7 separate regions of the Homo sapiens genome follow, and regions 2, 3, 4, 5, 6 and 7 are each linked to region 1. The links are contacts of gene promoters, found by promoter capture Hi-C in blood cells and fetal thymus (Javierre and others, 2016). All regions are on one chromosome and are shown on one strand. Each heading gives the region's core, a stretch centred on a gene start or on the middle of the fragment in contact. The rest is flanking DNA. Distances are from core to core; before and after follow the strand shown. Region 1 holds the start of PLEKHH2 (pleckstrin homology, MyTH4 and FERM domain containing H2). Region 2 has its middle 95 kb from the start of TRI-TAT2-1. Region 3 has its middle 72 kb from the start of TRI-TAT2-1. Region 4 overlaps LOC105374568 (a long non-coding RNA gene). Region 5 holds the start of HAAO (3-hydroxyanthranilate 3,4-dioxygenase). Region 6 has its middle 22 kb from the start of TRI-TAT2-1. Region 7 has its middle 5.6 kb from the start of TRI-TAT2-1.

Region 1 (2,700 bases), core at 115-2,614:
AAAGGAATCTATCATGTCTAGATTCTGCATTTGAAAATAATCTATCTTCACTTCAGGGGACAGGAAAAAGTCTTGGAGTTCCAAATACCCCCAGTGATTTTTGGAAGTATTTACTGACATAAGATAAACTGTTTACAATTGTGGAGTGAATGCTCTTTTCTCTGAATCTCTGACTTCCTGTTTCTCTTCCAAATCCCAAAAAGGAAAGAAAAAGAAATGAAAGAATTATTCTACTTAGGCTTACCCTGATGAAGCGCAGCGTTAGTCTCTATGATATTCTTTAGTTTTTGCCTCTTAAGGGACAGCTTAACTGGGCTGGGTAATCGTGTGTGTGAGTGTGTGTGTGTGTGTGTGTGTGTGTGTGTGTGTGTGTGTTAAAAGATCTTTCTCGACGAGACTGAGGCATGCCTTGTTTAAGGAACCTTCTGACCACCACCTAGCCACCTAGCCCCACTTGGGCAACGCCTGCCCTTCGGTGACCCTGCCCAGAACAGCCGAGCTCCTCACTACATACTCCTCTGGGACACACCGCTGTGCGGGCCAGGCTTCCAAGACTGGCATTTTCACAAAGAAAGCAGTGACCCTCAGGTAGCCCACCACCAGAGCTTTTCCAATGTAAGTGGTTCGACTTCTATTTCCACAGCGTTACGCACAACAATATCGACGGGTAAAAAGTGTTGTCCTTTAAAAAGTGCCCCACTAACTTCGGGGACAGTGGTTTCCGGGTAGGTCACCTTAGGGTGCTTTGACGTGCCAGCAACTCGAGGTGTACAAAATGCTTCTTTAAAGTTTTGAGTTTAAAGTTTCGCCCCGGAGATCCTGGTGGATCTCCCGAAGCCTAAGGCGAGCGCGGCATCCCTGACCGCGCGGGTCCCTCGGCTCGGGGACCCTGGGCTGCCCCGCTGCGCCCCCGGGACCGCTCGCGCCGCGCCAGAAGCCCGGGCCCAGTGTTTCCAAACAGAACGTCACGGGAGCCCACGGGCGCGAGGGACCGCCGGCCACCGCCCCCTGCCCACCTCTCCCGGCGACATCCAGACTTGGGGGCCGACTCTGGGCTGTGGCGGGAGGTGCAGCGGCGGATCCCGAGTCAGCCCGCTCCGTCCCTCTCGTCCCCGCCTTCCCGCTCCTCCCGGCGCCCCAAACCTCGGCCCCGCGAGCCCCCCTGGACGGGGCGCCCTCAAGGGGGCGGGGATCCCAGGGTGGCAGGAACTCTGGAGTGGCCCCTCGTCCCCGGGCTTTCTCACCTGTCTATCTCAGCAGCGGGTCCCCGGCCGCAGCGCCCGATGTCCCGGCCGCGACTGGCCCCCGGGATCCCCGGACTCTCAGCCCGCGCCCGCCTCAAGCCGAGCTCGGAGAGGGCGGGGAAGGGCACCGCCTCCTCCAGGGACTGGCAGCCGGTGTAGCCAATGGGAGACCACAGCCGACCACCGGGCGTCACCGGGGGTGTGGCTATAACTTTGGCTCCTCCCAGTCCCTGCCCCAGGAGGGAGCTCTGTCCTGGAGTGGTACCCCTAACGTCCCAACTGCGAGACTCCAGAGCTTGCTGCAGCGGCCGGTCACCTTCATTCCACTCCGTCTGCCTGGACTGTTGCAGCACCCTCCCTTGGTCTCCCAGTCTGAAGTCTCTCCTCTTGCCAATCCACCCTTCATCTTCCTGCCAGGTTAATTTCCTTAAGAGCAGTTTTGATGAACAGTGTGCCAAAGACTTTCATTGGCTTCCGTTTGCTTAAATTATCAAGAACAGATTCCCTAGTCTAGTGTTCAAGGTCTCCATCCCGTCTTTTCAGGTTTATTTCTCACAGCTGCCCTTCACACACCTGAGACTACTGCTGTGCACCTCGCCACCCGAAGGAAGTGGCACTAGGAGCGTTTACATGCTATTTCCTGTCTCCACTTCAAAAAGCTCAGAATAATCTTCTCACCGGGCGCAGTGGCTCACGCCTGTAATCCCAGTACTTTGGGGGACCGAGGCAGGTGGATCACTTGAGGCCAGGAGTTCGAGACGAGCCTGGGCAACATGGTGAAACCCTGTCTCTACCAAAAAAAAAAAAAAAATATATATATATATATATATATATACACACAAAAAAAAAAAATTAGCTGGGCTTGGTGGCGCTCACTTGTAGTCCCAGCTACTCAGGAGGCTAAGGCTGGAGGATTGCTTAAACACAGGAGATGGAGGCTGCAGTGAGCCGCGATCATGCCACTGCACTGGATCCTGGGCGACTGGGCGAGATCCTGTCTCAAATCATCATCATTATCATCATCATCATCATCATCATCTTCTCCATGTAACTATGTCTGTCGCTCCACCTGGCAGAAATGTCGTCTCTGGGCCGGGCGCAGTGGCTCATGCCTGTAATTCCAGCACTTTGGGAGGCCGAGGAGGGCAGATCACGAGGTCAAGAGATCGAGACCATCCTGGCCAACATGGTGAAACCTGGTCTGTACTAAAAATACAAAAATTAGCTGGGCGTGGTGGTGCACGACTGTAGTCCCAGCTACTCGGGAGGCTGAGGCAGGAGAATCGCTTGAACCTGGGAAGCGGAGGTTGCAGTGAGCCAAGATAGCACCACTGCACTCTAGCCTGCCTACAGAGCAAGACTCCATCTGAGACAAAAAAAAAAAAAAAGGTCTTCTCTGGTTTCTGCTCCCTGAACATCTAGATTTTTGCCTCTCTTGGGGCTTAGCTCCCTCTGC
Region 2 (2,702 bases), core at 165-2,664, 730 kb after region 1:
GGGCCCAAGGTAGGATCCCTAGTCCAGTTGCAGAGGTCTTCCTGGAGGAAGTGACATTCAAACTGAGATCTGAAGAATGAGTAGGAGCTGGTCAGGAAATGAACAGAAGCAATGGGGCTTCAGGACGAGAGCACAGGCATTGCAAAGGCCCAGGGAGAAGGAGAGCAGGAGAGAGAGAAGCCAGAAGTTCAGCAGGGCTGGCAGTTATTGAGCTGGACATACTCTGTGCCAAGCTCAGTGCTCTCGTAGGTACTGAATCCTGAGAGGCAGAAACCCCTGGCAGGCTAAGGATCAAAGATCTCAAGGTCGGGGAGCCAGGATCCCAGCATGAATCTGTGGACCCTGCACCCACCTTCTTTCCCCTCTGCCTAGAGCTGGACTTTCCAGGGCACCCCAGTTCCCTGCCCCTTCCCTTGTCCTGGTGACCCAGAAGCCCAGCACGGCCGAGTTTCTAGCAGTCATTTCTGGTGCTATCTCGGAGGAGACCCTGCTGCCCACCAGGAGGCATCGCCGGTTAAACATCTCCAGACCCCCTTGTGGTCTGGTTTCTGTTTCATCGGTGAGGCAACAGGAAAACTGAGAGCCTATTAAGTTGACTTGCAGATGCCAAAATGGAATCACAGCCAAAATTACATTAACCCTTTCACACCCCGTCCTCCACCCGCCGTCCGGGGCCACAGAAATCAGAGCGTTGAACCACATGACCGCTTGGGAGAAGCGACCACCTTGGCCCCAGGGGATGGCCTCCTAGATCCAGAGCGGCACCTGGCCTACCCAGGCAGGGCTGATGGGTCAGGCGTCCATCCTGCGCAGGTGCAAGCCATGGTGCTGGTGACGGAGGAGCACCCACCCAGCAGCCCTGCTGAACGCAAGGACTCGTAGCTGGGAAAAAGGACTGTGCAAACCGGAGCCAGCTCTTCCAAACAGGGAAGAGGTCATGTGAAAGCCGTGGGGCTGAGCTGCACAGTGGGGGGTTCTCAGGGCACTGATCTTTCACTCTCATTCCAGGAAGTCAAGCCATAGCCAAGTGGGAGCGCACTGGAAATGGGGTGGCCCCGAGAAGGCAAAAGCACAGCCATCGTCTCTTAACTTAGTGTCCCCTGAAGGCTCCGCACAGAAAAGGGTAATATGGGTCAAGAAAAGAGCACTGGACTGGGAGTCCATCCAGAATGGAGCAGGGCATTTGTCCTGTCCTCGTGGTGGGGCAGAATGAGCACAGGCTTTGTAGTTAGATTCCATTGAGTATCAACCTTATTTCCCCATCTGGGAGCTGTGTGACCCTGGGTCAATTACTCCTCCCTGAGCCTCAGTTGCCTCAGCAATAAATGGATATAATATAGACTACCTCATAGGGTCTTATCAGGATGAAATAAGGTGCCACAGTGCCCAAAGCAAGCTGGGCATGTAAAGGGAACTCCCTTGCCTCCAGGCCGCAGCTTCAACTGTAAAATGGGCTGACAACCATCCTGGGTTAAGTGTGTCCAGCACTTGAGACACTACAGAGGGCTGCAGATACATTCAAGGGGTCTCTGGCTGGGGAAGACGCTGAGATGTTATTCCCTTTCCAGCCTCCTTTGCCCTTGGCCTTCTTCTCACCTACCATCAGACAGAGGCCTCCCTCACGCTGCACAGCCTCCTCCTGGGTGATTGTGAGGGCTCCGTGGCCACAGAGATGAAAGAACATTTCTTGTGCACCTACTCAAGGCAATTATCAGAAACTGGAATTATTATACCCCCTGCCCAACCAGCTTATAGTTGAAGGAAATGCGGTTCAGGCACAGAAGGTGACTCACCTGGAGTCACATGGTTTCTAAGCCCTTGCTTGGGTTTGGAATCCTAGGCCTGACTGACTCCAAGGCCCATGTTCCTGCCCCTGCCCCACTCCAAGCCCCCAGTTCACCAGCAGCATAATAGCCCGGGGAACCTGAGACCTGAACTGCCCAAATGCTGGGACTATCCTGGGGTGGCCTCCCCTCCTGTGGGTGCTGAGACAGTGGTCACCACTCCACCATCGGGAGAGACGGACACTCCAAACTACCACCAACTCCCTCGCTGGCCAAGGACCACCAGGAATGAGTGGATGGGATGGGAAACAGGCAGGAAGAGGTGATGCTCAGGCCTAAGTGTGAGTCTGGGCTCAGCCGTGTTGACTTGCCCAAGTTTCCTCACCCCCCTGGCTCTCCGTGACCTCATCTGTAGATCCTGGACAGGAAGAACACTGTCCTATCTCGCAGGCTGTCGGGAGATTTAAATGAGATGACTGATGGGTGTTGAAATGATCAAGGCTTGTTGTCACTGGTAATTAGCACACTCGTTATTTGTTTGTGTTTCTAAGCAGCAGATTCGCTAAGTGGGTTAAACCGCTTCTCAGTCCCAGCTGCTCAAGTGTCCTGTTGACACTGGTCCTGCTTTGTTCACAGACAGCAAAGGTGAATCCATGCCCTGCACAGTTGGAACAGCCCATACCCCAGGGGAGCCCCCATGGGGCGCAGACTGTTCAGCTTTTGTGCTGGTTTTCTTGGCCCTCAGGCCAACCAAGCGACGGGAGGCAAGCGTAGCAGGCATTCTTCCTCCCCTGGGTTCTCAGAAATGGATAAACCAACACATGAGACCCACAGCCACCCTGGCGTATTTGCAGGGAGTGCTTACTATGTGCCAGACAGTTTGCTCCTCTACAGATAAAACCCTGGGAGCTTCTCCCT
Region 3 (2,700 bases), core at 3-2,502, 750 kb after region 1:
TTTTGTTCTCTTGACTTAAAACTTTTCTGCTTAGAAAAATCAACAAAGAACTTAGTAAGCTTCTTCTCTATTTCACTCCTAGGAACACCATGATTAACTAGCCAATGCCATACTAGTCTGCATGAGCCGGATTATTCTGATTGGTGCTTTGCCTCTGCTGTGCATTAAGGTAACTACACCCACCTTGCATTTGATGGCTGGGTGCCGCCACTTGGCCCTGTCACCTTGGAATCCAATTACCCCCTGTTGCATGTAGATTTCCAGTTGAGTGGCTATGGTTTCCAATGTGAAGTCTGGCCTATAGAAAAGAGTGACCACAGAGCTCTCCAGGGATGCTGGGGCTCCCCTCACAAATTTATTCCTCAAAATACTGGTAAAGGGTATGTCTTCTGGACCTTCTCAGTGTGGGTGAAGGGGTCTTAAATGACAGATTCACTTGGACATTCCAATCTCCTAAGTCTTTGAACCCCCTCCTCTGCGTTAAACCAAGGGAGCTCGGGCATTTCCAATTCACTCTTGGTGGCCTACCTTTTGATCCATATTTCAGCCAAACAAACTGTTAGAATCCTTTGTAACTCCCCCACCTGCAAAATTGAATGCAGAATTTCTGCTTAGTGGGTCTATAGCAATAAATTCAGCCTGATTCACCTTTATGTTCCTTCCACCATTACCCCACACTCTCAATATCCACTCCCATGCATGTTCCCCAGATTTCTGCTTGTATAAAGGAATTATTTTGGGGGCAGTACACCTCCTCATGGGTCACACTATGTACCTTACCTTTAGGGGGCTTCTGGGACTCGAGTCTAGATATAGGTCTACAAGCAAAGAATGCTGATGAGGTGGGTCCAGGGGTGAATCTGCCCTGTCTTATATAGCAACTGCTTCAGGGGTGGCCATTACTGTTTCATCAGGCAATGAAGATTTATCCCCACTACTGTGGGTGAGGAAGCCACTTTTGCTAAGGGTGGGTAGGCAACTTCACTGGGGGTAGGGATGCCACTTCCACTGGGCGTAGGCCAGTCTCTTCCATGGTAAAGAAGACTTATGAGAACTTAGAGGCTCAAGGTCTCCAGCTTCATCAAGGTCTTCCCATAGGTCACCCACCCAACTCACAGGATATCATTCTTTCCCAGTCAATGCCCTCACTGTAACAGTAGAGACCATGTGAGGCTGGGAAGTTGTCATTCAGTCAGTCACAGGATTTGTTTTGCATGTGATTTTCAGCAATTTCAGTCCTGAAATAAGGTTGCCCTTCAGGGCACAACTAGAAGATCTTTTATGCACTGTTTGAGCTAGGAATTTGAATCCATGATCTCATCCTTTTCTTTTACAAATCTGTCCAATGACATTAGAAACAAGTAACCAAGTAACCAATGTCATTATATTCCTCAATTTTCCAAAAATGTTTGAAATATCTTAAATGAAGTCACGTAGCTCCTTGCTTCTTATAAGTGGTTGATTAGAAGTATCCAATGCAGATATTTTGCATATCTCTATAAACAGCCAACACCATGAACAATCAGATTAGAGGGCCAGTCTCATAAACCTCAGAACCAATTCAGGAAACTCAACCTTAAAATTCTGTTCTCCTAGAACCACTATTGATACTAAAATCTGCATTAGTCAGAGTTCTCCTGAAAAAGAGAACCAATGGGATACACACACACACACACACACACACACACACACACACACACACACACATTGATTATAGGAGTTGGCTTATGTGATTACAGAGGCTCAGAGCTCCCTCAATCTGCCATCTGCAAGCTAGAGAACCAGGAAAGCTGGTGGTGTAATTCAGTCCAAGTCCAAAGCCCAACAACCAGGAGCACTACTGTCTAAGGGCAGGAGAAGATGGGTGTCTCAGCTCAAACAGAGACAGAGAACAAGTTTGTCTTCCTCTGCCTTTTTGTTTTATTTGGGCCCTCAACAGATTGGATAATCCCCACCCACATTGGTGAGGGCAGTCTTCTTAATCTACTAATTCAAATATAAATCTCTTCTGGAAACACTCTCACAGACACATCCCAAAATAATGGTTTATCAACTATCTGGGCATCGCTTAACCTAGTCCAGTTGACACACAGAATTAATCACCACAGTTGTCAATTAGGAGTAAACCTCTAACATGAGCTGTAAGACTACAGGGACTTTTCCACAGACCAGCTTCTGGCTGTGTGCATTTCAATCTTGTTTCATTTCCACTTCCTACATGCTTCCTGTACTAAGAGCCATAGGACACATTCATGCTGCATCACCCCAGGTGAGTCAACACCATGGGTGGTAGGAGTATTCCTGGAAACCAATCCTCCCCAATAATTGTCATGATACATGGAAGTGACTGAGAGTCACACTCATGAAATATTATATACATATATTGCATCCCACATAAATACATCCCATTTGTCCACATTAAATGCATCCCTCAATTCAAGCTTCCCTAAGCTGGATCCCCAAAATGCCACAGTTATTCCGATATCCCTTGACAGAAGGGAAATGTGACAGAGGGGAAGTCAGGGTGAAAAGAAACAGCAGCCTTGAATGATTGTGGTTGATACAATATACTTTTGCAAATTTTACAAAAATGTGAAAGCATTGCCAGGGCCCCTCCCGGGGCCTTGGAAGGAGCAAGTGGGGGCCCAGCAAAGCTCTGCATGAAGGCACAGCCCTTAGAGATGAAACAGATCAAGAGAA
Region 4 (2,700 bases), core at 57-2,556, 720 kb after region 1:
GATCTGGGAACTGGAATGTCAGGAATGACTTCACTAAGAGATCAGAGGTGGTCTGAGAGCGGGTGACCAGAACAAGCCTGCCAGGCACAGAGAACAGCATGTGCAAAGGAGTAAGGGAGAGCCTAGTAGGTCTGGGACATGCCAGCAGTTCACTAGGCCTGGATAGAAAGTTTGAGCATGGGGAGAGGCCAGAGAAGGGGCTGGAGAAGGGATGGGCCCAGGTCACAGGGAGCAAAGTCCACTGGCCCAAGAAGCCAGGGCTTCATAGGGTCAGCAGTAGGGAGCCTGCCAGGGCTTTAAAGAGAGGAAAGACATGAGCAGCTTAGCATTTTAGAAAGTTCATTCGACTGAAAATGTGCAGAAAGCACAAACTAAAGCACAGACACAAAACAAGTTCAGAGGATGTGGCTGTCACCCAGGTGAGCAGTGATAGCTTGGACTTGGGGCCGGGGGGATGGAGATGAGGGGACAGTTGTAAGAAATATTTAGGAGGGAGTGAGAGAGGCTTGTGATGAACCAGCATGGGGGGGACAAGGGCCGGGCTGTTGTTAAGGATGAATACCAGGATTGTGGACAGCTTGGCTGAGTGAAGGGTGGCAGCAGGAATCCAGGGAGAGGCTGGTGTATTGGCCTTGGCCATGTACCTGGCTGGCTGTTAGGGATGTGGGTCTGGAGAGGGAGGTGCTGGCCTGGTGCTCTGGAGTAGTTTGAACCCAGATTTCAATGCTGCCTGGGGAGAGGAAGAGGCTGGGAGATGGAGTGGAGTGAGCAGAGTGGACAGTGCCCTTCCCTTTCTACTAAGCCAAACCTTAGCATGCTTCAAGATCCACTCACCCCTTCCCAACCCACACCTATGTGGGAGAGCATTCAACAAAGACTGTCGGGAAGAGGGGAACTTGCGTCAAGGAGGGCAGTAGATTAGGATGGTGGATGGCCTTGGATGTGGGGAGCAAGGGTGCAGAGGCAGGATTGCAGGCGGGAGACACATTTAAGAACTTAAGGGTCCTCCCTAGTTTGGGCCCAGTGTCAGCTCCATGGCCCACTGGGAGTCCTGGGAGCAATGACTGGATGCTTGGAATGACTCTTCCTTCTGGGGATGAACTCCAGTCTACTCCAGCACAGTGACCAGATGCTACAGGGGCATTCCCAACCCCCACAGAAGCTGTTATCCCAGGCACTGCCCAGTCCAACCCAGGGAGCCAGCATCTCCAGTCTCTTGTTTCTTTCCACAGCGGGGCCTCCAGGGGCTGAGTGCTGAGGCAGCAGGAGTAGGACAAGTCCAGAACAAGGAACCCCAAGCTGGGCGTCTTTTCCCACTCCCTTTCCTTTCCTTGGTGTTGAAGGTCGAATTTCACCTCCCTTCTCATTTCTCTCTTTGCATTTTGTAGGACACACACCACCTCATCCAGCCACAGTGGCCACAGTCCTCAGGTATCTGTCATCAGCTCTCAGCCCTTCTTTCTGAGGCACGCAAGAGTGGGCAGAAGCCCTTGGGACCCCCCTTTGCCTCCAAACCCCAGTGCATTCCCAGCTTTTTCTTGGTCTCCACACTCCAGTCCAAGCCTCTGTCCTGTCCCCAGAATTCCCTGAAGAAGGTCCAGGGAGAGGGCTGTGAGTTCTCTATAAGACCAGCAGATGCAGCTGGTTGATTGCCCTTGACTCTGCTGGTGGCGGGGACATTGCTGGTGACCAGCTGCTGGTGTTCCACTCTATCCCACGGGCTTGGCCCAGCCAGCCTCAGATACCAGCAGATGGCCCCATCCCCTCTGGGATGCCCTGCCCCATTCATCTGGCCCCCATTTCTGTTTCTGATATTCTGTCCCCCTTATCTCCCTTCTCAGACTGGACAGCCCCTGTGTACCTGGGATGCGGAGAGTGACCCAAGCCTCAATCCTGGCCAGTGAGACTGCCCATCGAGGTGGAAATCATCGTCTTAATTACCAAGGCTCCCTGGCCACCGGAGGAGACACGCAACACACAGCCTGCCTAATGCGCCAGCAGCCGAGTTGGGGAGGTCCCTGGGAAAAAGGCCTATGCTCCCCCAGCCATTCTCAGGGCCTAGAATGTTCTTTAGCACGAGAGAAGTGAAGGCTCAGGGGTCCAGTGGGGAGGGCCGGGTACCAGCCCAGAAGTAGGTCTAGCCAGGGAGGTGGAGTCCCCAAGAAACACCCTCAGGAGCCTGCTGAGTCACAATCATCCCTCACAGCACGAATGTCTCGCCTGCTCCCTGCACGCAGCTCACCTGGGACTCTCCTTCTGCCGGCAGGGTGAGGGGCCTTTGAAAGGCCTAAACCAGAAAGGCTGGAGGGGCTGAAGGCAGGAGCCAGCTGGCCCCAATCCTGTTCTCTCTGGAGCCCCTCAGTCCTTAGCCCAGCCCCCAGGTGTGTCTTGTCTCCTTCTTAGAGGCTCCAACGGCCAGAGCTCCCCACTCCCAACCTACCATCTTGTCCCAGAGATGGAAGACAACATGGGAGCGGCCCCTCACAGCCAGAGTACCTTCAAGACCATGTGGCACCACCAGACTGAAACCCAGGTCCGGTGGGCTCTGCCATCCCCATGCCAAGCAGAGGGAAGGAGGGGGTGGGAGGACAGAAGAAGGAGTGGGCGGGGTGAGTCTGTGGTGGTTTGGATTGAGATGAGCTGGACTTACGTGTGTGACAGCTTTTCCTCTGGTCCCAACCTTATACCTTTGGTTTTCCT
Region 5 (2,700 bases), core at 185-2,684, 840 kb after region 1:
ATTGTTTACGTCTCCTCTGATTACTTGTAGATGAGAAAAATAAAGAAGGTGGTGTGAGTTACTTGGGTGCAAAACGATATTCTAGTTTTGCACTAGAAGTGCTCAGCTAAAACTGTGCTAGATAAATAACTAAAAAAAAGGAGAGAGAAAAATGAAAAAAAAAAAAAGAGCGTCAGAGAGGAAACGGGAGGGTCTCAGTGGGGAATTCGGCTTCCTGTCGTCTGGGTTTTGATTTTGAGTTGTACTAGAGGAGTCTTTATGTCTGGAATGCTGAGAAAACCAGCCCAGGCCAGGCGGGCTGTGAGGGCAGGATTTAGAGGCGTTTAGTTTCTTAAACTCTATAGTCTGGATTCCGGTGTCAGGGGCCTGAGCCATTTTCCTCCTCCCCTACCCGTCAGCTCCCACTCCCTCCAAACTTCCTAAGAAAGTTCTGAGTCCTGCAGAAAGACAGGCTTCTCCATCTTCCACACCCGCGCAGATTTCTCTTTCCTCACACATGCACGCCCAGGCCCAGCGCCCCAGCCCCTCACCCCCAGGATAACTGTTAGAGTCTCTCACACGGGGCTGTCATCATTAACACCCCGAGATTCCCGAGGGCTAGGACACTGAGGCCGGTGTCCACATCTGCCAAATTCCTCCCATAGCTGCGTGCGAACTGAGTATGTTCCTAAGACGCCTAAGGAGTTCAGCACGGGGCTCGGGGTCCACTGCGACACTGCGCGGACAGCGGCCGCTCGGCTGGGCCTCAGGTGGGGAGGGCTCGCGGTCCTGCCCTGAGCCCGGGCTCCGCAGCTCGGCGCCTGCACCGCTCCCCTCGCCGAGCCCGCGGCGGAGTCTGCCGGCCGCACGCAGCAGGTCTGGGGCTCACCTTGAATCGGGACCTGCGGGGACCGCCGTGCGGCTTCCCGCTGGGTGAGCGCCGCAGCCCTGAGTGGCGGGGCAGTCATTCCCCTTTTCCAGATGGGAAAGCCAAATCTTGAGCCCAGCGCCAGCACCGTGTTCTCAGGTGCTGGGACTTCCAACCCGCGATCTCCTCACTGTAGTATTTCTGGGAACCTTCCCTGGGATTCCCCTCGGGGCGTAGAGGGAAGGAACGTCTGGGGACAAGCGTCCAGGAAGGGTCTGGATTCTTTGTCCTCCGCCGGGAGCAGGCCCCACCGCAGGCGCCAGTGTGTGGGGCGCCCCGGAGACGGTGGCGGGGACCGAGCCCCTGCCCCGCGGAGAAGCAGAGGGCGCGGGACGCCGTTCCCCAGCGCTGCCGCCGCCGCGCTCGCCAGGGCCTGGAGTGGCGCGGAGGGCGGCGGGCTCAGACCAAAGTCCACCAGGGGGCAAAGTCCGCGGGCCCCAAGCCCCCACCACGGGGTCGCGGGGGTTTGCTCCGCCTCGTGAGCTTGGGATTCTGGTTAAAAAGGCGGCTGGGCGGAGCTGCGGGCCTCCGACGGCGGGAGGACAGCGCTGCGAGGAGGCGCCCGGGACAGTCATGGAGCGCCGCCTGGGAGTGAGGGCCTGGGTGAAGGAGAACCGGGGCTCCTTCCAGCCCCCGGTCTGCAACAAGCTCATGTGAGTCCAGCACCCCCATGGCCGCCCCCTGCCCTCGCCTCCTCCCCCTCCTCCATCTGCGCCCTCACCTTCCAGCTCCGAGTTCCTGGACCCAGAAGCTTGCAGAAGGACCGCTTTAATCTCTTGGTTCTTGGGGGAAGATGGAGACAGGCTGTTCCGGTTCCACCACATCGGTCTGTTCCTCTTTCTTGTGACTGTGGCCTTGACTTCTGAAGAAGGCTGAGCTGGTTCTCAGGCTGTAGGAGATGACATGACAGGGTGCACCTCTCCTTCCAGGGCTGAGAAACAATTCTCCAACCCCAAGTGACACTGTGCATTTTGGGAAAACTCAAAAGTGTGGGGAGGGTGGTTTTCAAGGCAGAAATGCACTAGAATGTAGGCCTGGGGGCAGCCAAATCATACACCCCAACCCTGTCCCAGAAGCCACAGGCAAAGGGGGAGGCAGAGAATCCGCTCCTTTGGGAAGATCTTGATGTCTTGCTTTTTTCAGGGCCCCTCTATGCAGGTGTGCACGAACACACACACACACACACCACACCAGACCCTCCCTAGGCCACCTCTGCCAGTAGCCTCTGCCTGCAGCACCCAACAGGGTTGGCCATCCAGCTGCCATCTTTCTCAGGCAGACCTCTCAGGCCCTCCCCTGTGGTATGGTCACCTCCCTCATCCCCCCAGTTCCATGGCGGGGCCCCACATGCCAGCTAGATCAAGGTTTACATTCCCCATTTTTGCTGTGTCCACAGGACATGGTCAGTAGGGTGGCACCTCAAGGCAAACAGCAGGCCCAGGACTATGCCAAGTGTTTTTACATCATCTCATCTCATTCTCACAGTAGCACCGTGAGGGGGGATTTTCATAAGTAACTTTTCTAGTGTCACGGAGCGCCTGTGCGATAGGCTCCAGACTCAACCCACGGAGCAGTTCGACTCCAGAGTCCACGCACACTCTTGGTTACCATGCAATACCACATGGCCAACAGTCAATATCTCCCCAAAGATCTCTTCTATCACTGTTGTTGCCCACCCCCAATTAAAGATGTAGCATCATCTTTGCCTCCTTCCAACACTTCATCCCCATCTGCAGTCGCTCCTTCTCAGTCCTCCCTTCGCTCCCCCTGAGGTCTCGCGTCCATCTGCCCGG
Region 6 (2,700 bases), core at 125-2,624, 800 kb after region 1:
CTCACTCTGTCACCCAGGCTGGAGTGCAGTGGCACAATCTCCGCTCCCTGCAACCTCCGCCTCCACGTTCAAGCGATTCTCCTGCCTCAGCCTCCTAAATAGCTGGTATTACAGGCATGCACAATCACACCTGGCTAATTTTTGTATTTTTAGTAGAGTGGGGGTTTCACCATGTTGGTCAGGCTAGTCTCGAACTCCTGACTTTGTGATCCGCCCACCTCAGCCTCCCAAAGTGCTGGGATTACAGGCGTGAGCCACCATGCCCCACCAAAAAAAATTTTTTAAGCCTGTTGAGGTGGTGCGCATCTGTGGTTCCAGCTACTCGAGAGGTTGAGGCAGGAAGATGGCTTGAGCCCAGAAGATCCAGGCTGCAGTGACCAGTGATTATGCCACTGTAGTCCAGCCTGGGCGACAGAGCAAGACCTTTTCTCAAAATAATAATAATAAAAATAATAATAATAATTAAAATTTTAAAAATCCACCCACAGGCAATATCCAGCACTCACAGAAGACAAGCAGGTGGGGAAACGACCAGGGATCCTGAAACCCTCAGACAAGGCCAAAACTTGATTTAGCCACTAGAGGTAAAGACAGAACTGGCCTCCTCCCCAAGTCCCTCAAAAAAGTGGGGGCTATAAACCTAACACCTGGACAGGTGCAGAATCAGAGCTGTTTGGAAGCCCACTCACCAAGAAAATACACTATCACATTTGACCAGTTAATCTGAATGCTAGGAGTTTCTGCAAGGCTCAGACAGAGCCTCTGGCTCCGCACGTGTGTGCAAGGATCCCACGTCAGTTTTGTGACCATGGAAGTGCATCTACTTGTAGGTGGGAGATTTCTTTTTGCCTGGGTGAAGGTCTATGACTGAGACTGTGTGGAAGACAGTGGGTGTCTGTGAGCAGAATTGCCACTGGTTACATGTGCAGGCTCTGAGGCCGGACTACCTGGCCTTGAATCCCAAGTCTACCAATTACTGGCTTTGTGAGCTTGAGTTGACCTCTATGTGACTCAATTGACCTCTATGTGGGAGTAAATAACTATACCTGTCTCATGCAGTTGTTGCAAGGATGAAATTACATAATCCTTTCTATAGTGTTAGAACAATGCCTATGATATAGTAAATTACCAATAGGTGTTAGTTATAATTATGATGTGTGACTGTGTATATCCGCATCTGCAAATGTAAATTCAAGTGTATCTAGTAAAGGTATAGGGGTGTCTTTATGTCTTTGTTTATGAAGATATACTCATCTAAGTGTCTGTGTCTATGTTTCTGTGTGTCCAATGATAAGAACAACTGGCATCTATTGAGTGCCTTCTGTGTCAGGCATTAAGTTCTACAGGTATTCACATGGAAACATACACATACGTGGATGTAAATGGCAAGTACACATCCAGCCTGATTTACGATATCATAGGCATTGTTCTAACACTATAAATAGGATTAAGTTTGGGAGGCCGAGGTGGACATGTTTCTGGGGGGTCCTTGCTCCCAGAGCTCCCAAGATGGTGGCAGGTGGCTTCCAAAATGGCAGCCGGCTGCTTCCAAGATGGTGGCAAGCCTAATGTTCTCTGACCTGGGGTTCTTGGCCTCACGGATCCCAAGGAATGGAATCTTGGGCCATGAGGTGAGTGTTAAAGCTCTATTAGAAGCCATGGGTTATGGAAGAGAACCGTGGAAACCAGTGACTAGTGTTCAGCTCGATCAGGATGAACCCGGGCACTTAGCCATGAAGGAACAATGGCAAGCCTTTAGCCCCATCGGGAGTGGCAATGGGTGCCTCGCTGGATCAGGAGCACAGCGGACACCCTGTGTCTGGAGGGATGGAAGTCAGCGGCGGGTCTGCCATGGCGGCAAACAGCAGTGGTGGACGGCGAGCGAAAGCTCAGCTCCAGCCGTAACAAACACAGACCAGAAGAGAGTGCTGTTGCAAGATTTAATAGAGTGAAAACAGAGCTCCCATACAAAGGGAGGGGACCCAAAGAGGGTAGATGTTGACGGCTCGCATGCCTGGGTTTACATCCCGATCACTGTCCCTCCTGCTGTGCTCTCAGGAGACAGATGATTGGCTATTTCTTTACCTCTTGTTTTTGCCTAATTAGCTTTTTAGTGAGTTATCTTTACTACCTGATTGGTCAGTGTGAGCTAAGTTGCAAGCCCCGCGTTTAAAAGTGGACGCGGTCACCTTCCCAGCTAGGCTTAGGGAGTCTTAGTCGGCCTAGGAAATCCAGCTAGTCCTGTCTCTCAGACGGATCACTTGAGGTCAGGAGTTCGAGACCAGCCTGGCCAACACGGCGAAACCCTGTCTCTACTAAAAATACAAAAATTAGCCGGGCATGGTGGCAGGCATCTATAATCCTCGCTACTTGGGAAGCTAAGGCAGGAGAATTGCTTGAACCAGGGAGGCGGAGGTTGCAGTGAGCTGAGATCGTGCCACTGCACTCCAGCCTGGGTGACAGAGCCTGACTTCGTCTCAAAAAGAAAGGATTAAGTAATTTCATCCTTGCAACAACTACATGAGGTAGCTATGGTTATTTACCCCACCCCACCCCCACATCCAGCCACATGTGCCAGTGAGTACCTGTAAGTGTGGCCATCTGCCTCAGCCCTGCCCAGTAAGACCCCCTTCCTGAGGGAGTCACGTGAGGGAAAGCAGTGAATGAAACCCACCACCAGCCCCTTCCCCAGGTTCCCTA
Region 7 (2,700 bases), core at 176-2,675, 820 kb after region 1:
ATTTTGAAAGAGAAGAACAAAATTGGAGAACTTATAATACCTGGTTTCCAAACTTACTCTAAATCTACAGTAATCACCACAGTGTAGTGTTGGCATAACACCATACTGACAGGTCAATAGAATAGAACGATAGTACAGCAATAGAGCAACACATTTATGGACAGCTTGTTTTTGATAAGATGCCAAGGCAATTTGATCAGGAAAGAATAAGCTTTTCAACAAATGGTGCCATAATTTAGATACTCACATACCCCAACCCCCCTCAAAATGAGACCTTTACCTCACACCATACACAAAAATTAAGTCAACTCAAAATGGAGCATAAACCTAAATATAAGAACTAAATCATGGACTAAAATCTTGGTGACCTTGAGTTAAACAAAGGTTATTTAGATATAGCACCAAAAGTACAATCAATAATGGGTAAAGAAATCAATGAATTGAACTTCATCAAAATGTTAAGATTTTGCTCGTTAACAGATATTAGAAAATGAAAACCCAAGCCACAAACTGGAAGTAATTACAAATTATATATCCACAGGCCAAACACAGTGGTGCATGCCTGAAATCCCAGCACTTTGGGTGGCCGAGGTGGATGGATCACCTGAGGTCAGGAGTTCAAGACCAGTCTGGCCAACATGGTGAACCTTGTCTCTACTAAAAATACAAAAATTAGCTGGCCATGATGGTGTGCACCTGTAGTCCCAGCTACTTGGGGGGCTGAGGCAGGAGAATCGGTTTAACCTGGGAGGCGGAGATTGCAGTGAGCTGAGATTGCACCACTGCACTCCAGCCTGGGTGACAGAGCAAGACTCTGTCTCAAAAAATATACGTATTATATATCCAACAAGGGAACTACATCTAGATTATACAGAAAATCTCTACAACCCAATAATGAAAAGAGAAACAACTCAATAAAAAGCAGACAGAAGACCGGAGTGGTGGCTTGCACCTGTGGTCCCAGCTACTGGGGAGGCTGAGGCAGGAGGATTGCTTGAATCCAGGAGTTTGAGGCTGTGATATCATGCCACTGCACTCTAGGCTGGGGGGCAAAACAAGACCCCATCTCAAAAACAAAAAACAAAAAAATACTTCACCAAAGAGGATATATTAATGTCTAATAAGCATATGAAAAGCTACTCAACATTATTAATGCAATTCATTGTACATAAACTATAACTCAGAAAAGCTTTAAAATTTAAAACTTATTGGTTATCTTTAGAAATTATTAGGGAATCAAAGATTGGTGGAAAAAGAGAAAGAATCAAGAAATTATCCAGTCTTTCTTATGTGAATTGTGCTTCCATAGTCATAAATACAGAAGGAATAATAGAATTAGAAAAGCACCATTGGGGAATCCTCAATAAAAATAATAGATTTAGACCAAGATAATCAACGGCTGCTAAAACATTAGGTTAGAGGCTGGTGAAGGACTTTATAATGGATGGATTCAGCCAACCACGCTGATGAAGGATTAGAGGCTGATGAAGGATTTTATAATGGATGGATTCTGCTGACCATGCTGAAATCATCAATCAAAAGCCATATTTCTAAATGTGGGACAGCCAGACATTATGTACTTTCTTTTGTGGTGCAATAGCACACAGTACCATCTAGAATATATTTTGGGGGAAAAATAATCTGAATATTATAAAGCTTCTAGATATAATTGCCATGAGGGATTGAAGAACATGGGGCTGAAGAAAACCTTGAGCATGCAATTAGCCAAAATCTGTGGGAAATTCTAAAGGTCAACAAAGAAATGTCATAAAAGGGGGTGAAAAGAGAGGAAATTCGAATAGATTAAAAGAGATTTATCCTTTAAATATCTTAAAGGATACACCAATCAAATGCCAAGGACAGCCCATATTTGGATCTTGATTCAAACAAACCAATCTTCTGTAAAAATATTTTTCAGAGATATGGGTAGCAATTTGAAAGCAGATGAGGTATGAGATGAAGCTAAGTAATTATTATTACTCTTGTTGGGTGTAATAATGATACCATGGTTATGCTTTTTTAAAAAAGTGATTACCTGTTGGGTATATATGCTGAAGTTTTGACAGGTTAAATTAAACCATATCTAGGATTTCCTCTAAAATATTCCAGAGGTAAGGGGTGAATGTTGTGGGAAGGATATAGATAAAACAATGTTGACAATTCTTTAAAAGTGGAAACATGGGGGTTAACTATACTGTTCTCTCTACTTTTGTGTATGTTTGAAATTTTCCATAATAAAGAATTGGGCTTTGGTTTCGTTTTGTTGAATTTTAAATGAGCTTGTTTCTACAGATCACAGCCCTCTGGCTGTGTTCTGACCTACTGAGAGTTCAACAGGATTCCCTCCCTTTACCCATATGGAGGCCACACACTCAATATCTGTAGGGTACAAATGACTGAAATGAGCCTGGGATAAAGAAAACAGCAAAGCAAGCCAGTGAATCAAGGCAGCTGGCACCTACCTCTGTGTTGGAGAATAATGGAGAGTGACAGGGACCGTGGCAAACCGAAAGCCACATACACATCCAAGATGGGCAGTCAGTCTTGCCATATAGGAATAAGGGCCCCAGATGGCCCGGCTTTTTTTTTTTTAGACAAGGTCTCACTCTGTCTCCCAGGCTGGAATACAGTGGTGTGATCTTGGCTCACTGCAACCTCCGCCTCTCAGGTTCAAGAGATTCTCCTGCCTCAGCCCCCCGA

The links. The method cuts DNA at HindIII sites, captures the fragments that hold promoters and counts their contacts. A CHiCAGO score of 5 or more calls a contact.
Region 2: a contact is called between a fragment that was not itself captured here and the fragment with the promoter of PLEKHH2 in region 1, in 5 of 17 cell types (neutrophils, naive CD8 T cells, naive B cells and 2 more). The highest score is 6.6, in neutrophils.
Region 3: a contact is called between a fragment that was not itself captured here and the fragment with the promoter of PLEKHH2 in region 1, in 7 of 17 cell types (neutrophils, naive B cells, total CD8 T cells and 4 more). The highest score is 8.5, in neutrophils.
Region 4: a contact is called between a fragment that was not itself captured here and the fragment with the promoter of PLEKHH2 in region 1, in 1 of 17 cell types (non-activated CD4 T cells). The highest score is 5.0, in non-activated CD4 T cells.
Region 5: a contact is called between the fragment with the promoter of HAAO here and the fragment with the promoter of PLEKHH2 in region 1, in 4 of 17 cell types (total CD4 T cells, naive B cells, fetal thymus and 1 more). The highest score is 6.7, in total CD4 T cells.
Region 6: a contact is called between a fragment that was not itself captured here and the fragment with the promoter of PLEKHH2 in region 1, in 8 of 17 cell types (activated CD4 T cells, total CD8 T cells, monocytes and 5 more). The highest score is 10.7, in activated CD4 T cells.
Region 7: a contact is called between a fragment that was not itself captured here and the fragment with the promoter of PLEKHH2 in region 1, in 6 of 17 cell types (activated CD4 T cells, naive CD4 T cells, total CD8 T cells and 3 more). The highest score is 7.2, in activated CD4 T cells.

Annotation. Positions count from the first base shown.
Region 1 is chr2:43,635,924-43,638,623 of GRCh38, reverse strand. It overlaps PLEKHH2 (pleckstrin homology, MyTH4 and FERM domain containing H2), which reads right to left and starts at 1,364. Exons shown (of 30, transcript NM_172069.4): 1 at 1,245-1,364. RefSeq lists a silencer at 1,131-1,460. The HindIII fragment of the contact is 11,276 bases long and covers 1-2,700 here.
Region 2 is chr2:42,903,763-42,906,464 of GRCh38, reverse strand. No RefSeq gene overlaps it. Among named protein-coding and RNA genes, the nearest start is that of TRI-TAT2-1, 95 kb to the right of the region's middle. RefSeq lists an enhancer at 1-112. The HindIII fragment of the contact is 9,825 bases long and covers 1-2,702 here.
Region 3 is chr2:42,881,458-42,884,157 of GRCh38, reverse strand. No RefSeq gene overlaps it. Among named protein-coding and RNA genes, the nearest start is that of TRI-TAT2-1, 72 kb to the right of the region's middle. The HindIII fragment of the contact is 2,382 bases long and covers 62-2,443 here.
Region 4 is chr2:42,920,365-42,923,064 of GRCh38, reverse strand. LOC105374568 (a long non-coding RNA gene) reads left to right here. Exons shown (of 3, transcript XR_940014.3): 1 at 1-419; 2 at 1,389-1,431; 3 at 1,842-2,700. Among named protein-coding and RNA genes, the nearest start is that of TRI-TAT2-1, 110 kb to the right of the region's middle. The HindIII fragment of the contact is 5,075 bases long and covers 1-2,700 here.
Region 5 is chr2:42,791,317-42,794,016 of GRCh38, reverse strand. HAAO (3-hydroxyanthranilate 3,4-dioxygenase) reads left to right here and starts at 1,434. Exons shown (of 10, transcript NM_012205.3): 1 at 1,434-1,560. The coding sequence starts at 1,481. RefSeq lists silencers at 698-787, 868-967, 1,148-1,587. The HindIII fragment of the contact is 4,290 bases long and covers 1-1,660 here.
Region 6 is chr2:42,831,272-42,833,971 of GRCh38, reverse strand. No RefSeq gene overlaps it. Among named protein-coding and RNA genes, the nearest start is that of TRI-TAT2-1, 22 kb to the right of the region's middle. The HindIII fragment of the contact is 3,429 bases long and covers 1-2,700 here.
Region 7 is chr2:42,814,738-42,817,437 of GRCh38, reverse strand. No RefSeq gene overlaps it. Among named protein-coding and RNA genes, the nearest start is that of TRI-TAT2-1, 5.6 kb to the right of the region's middle. The HindIII fragment of the contact is 467 bases long and covers 1,192-1,658 here.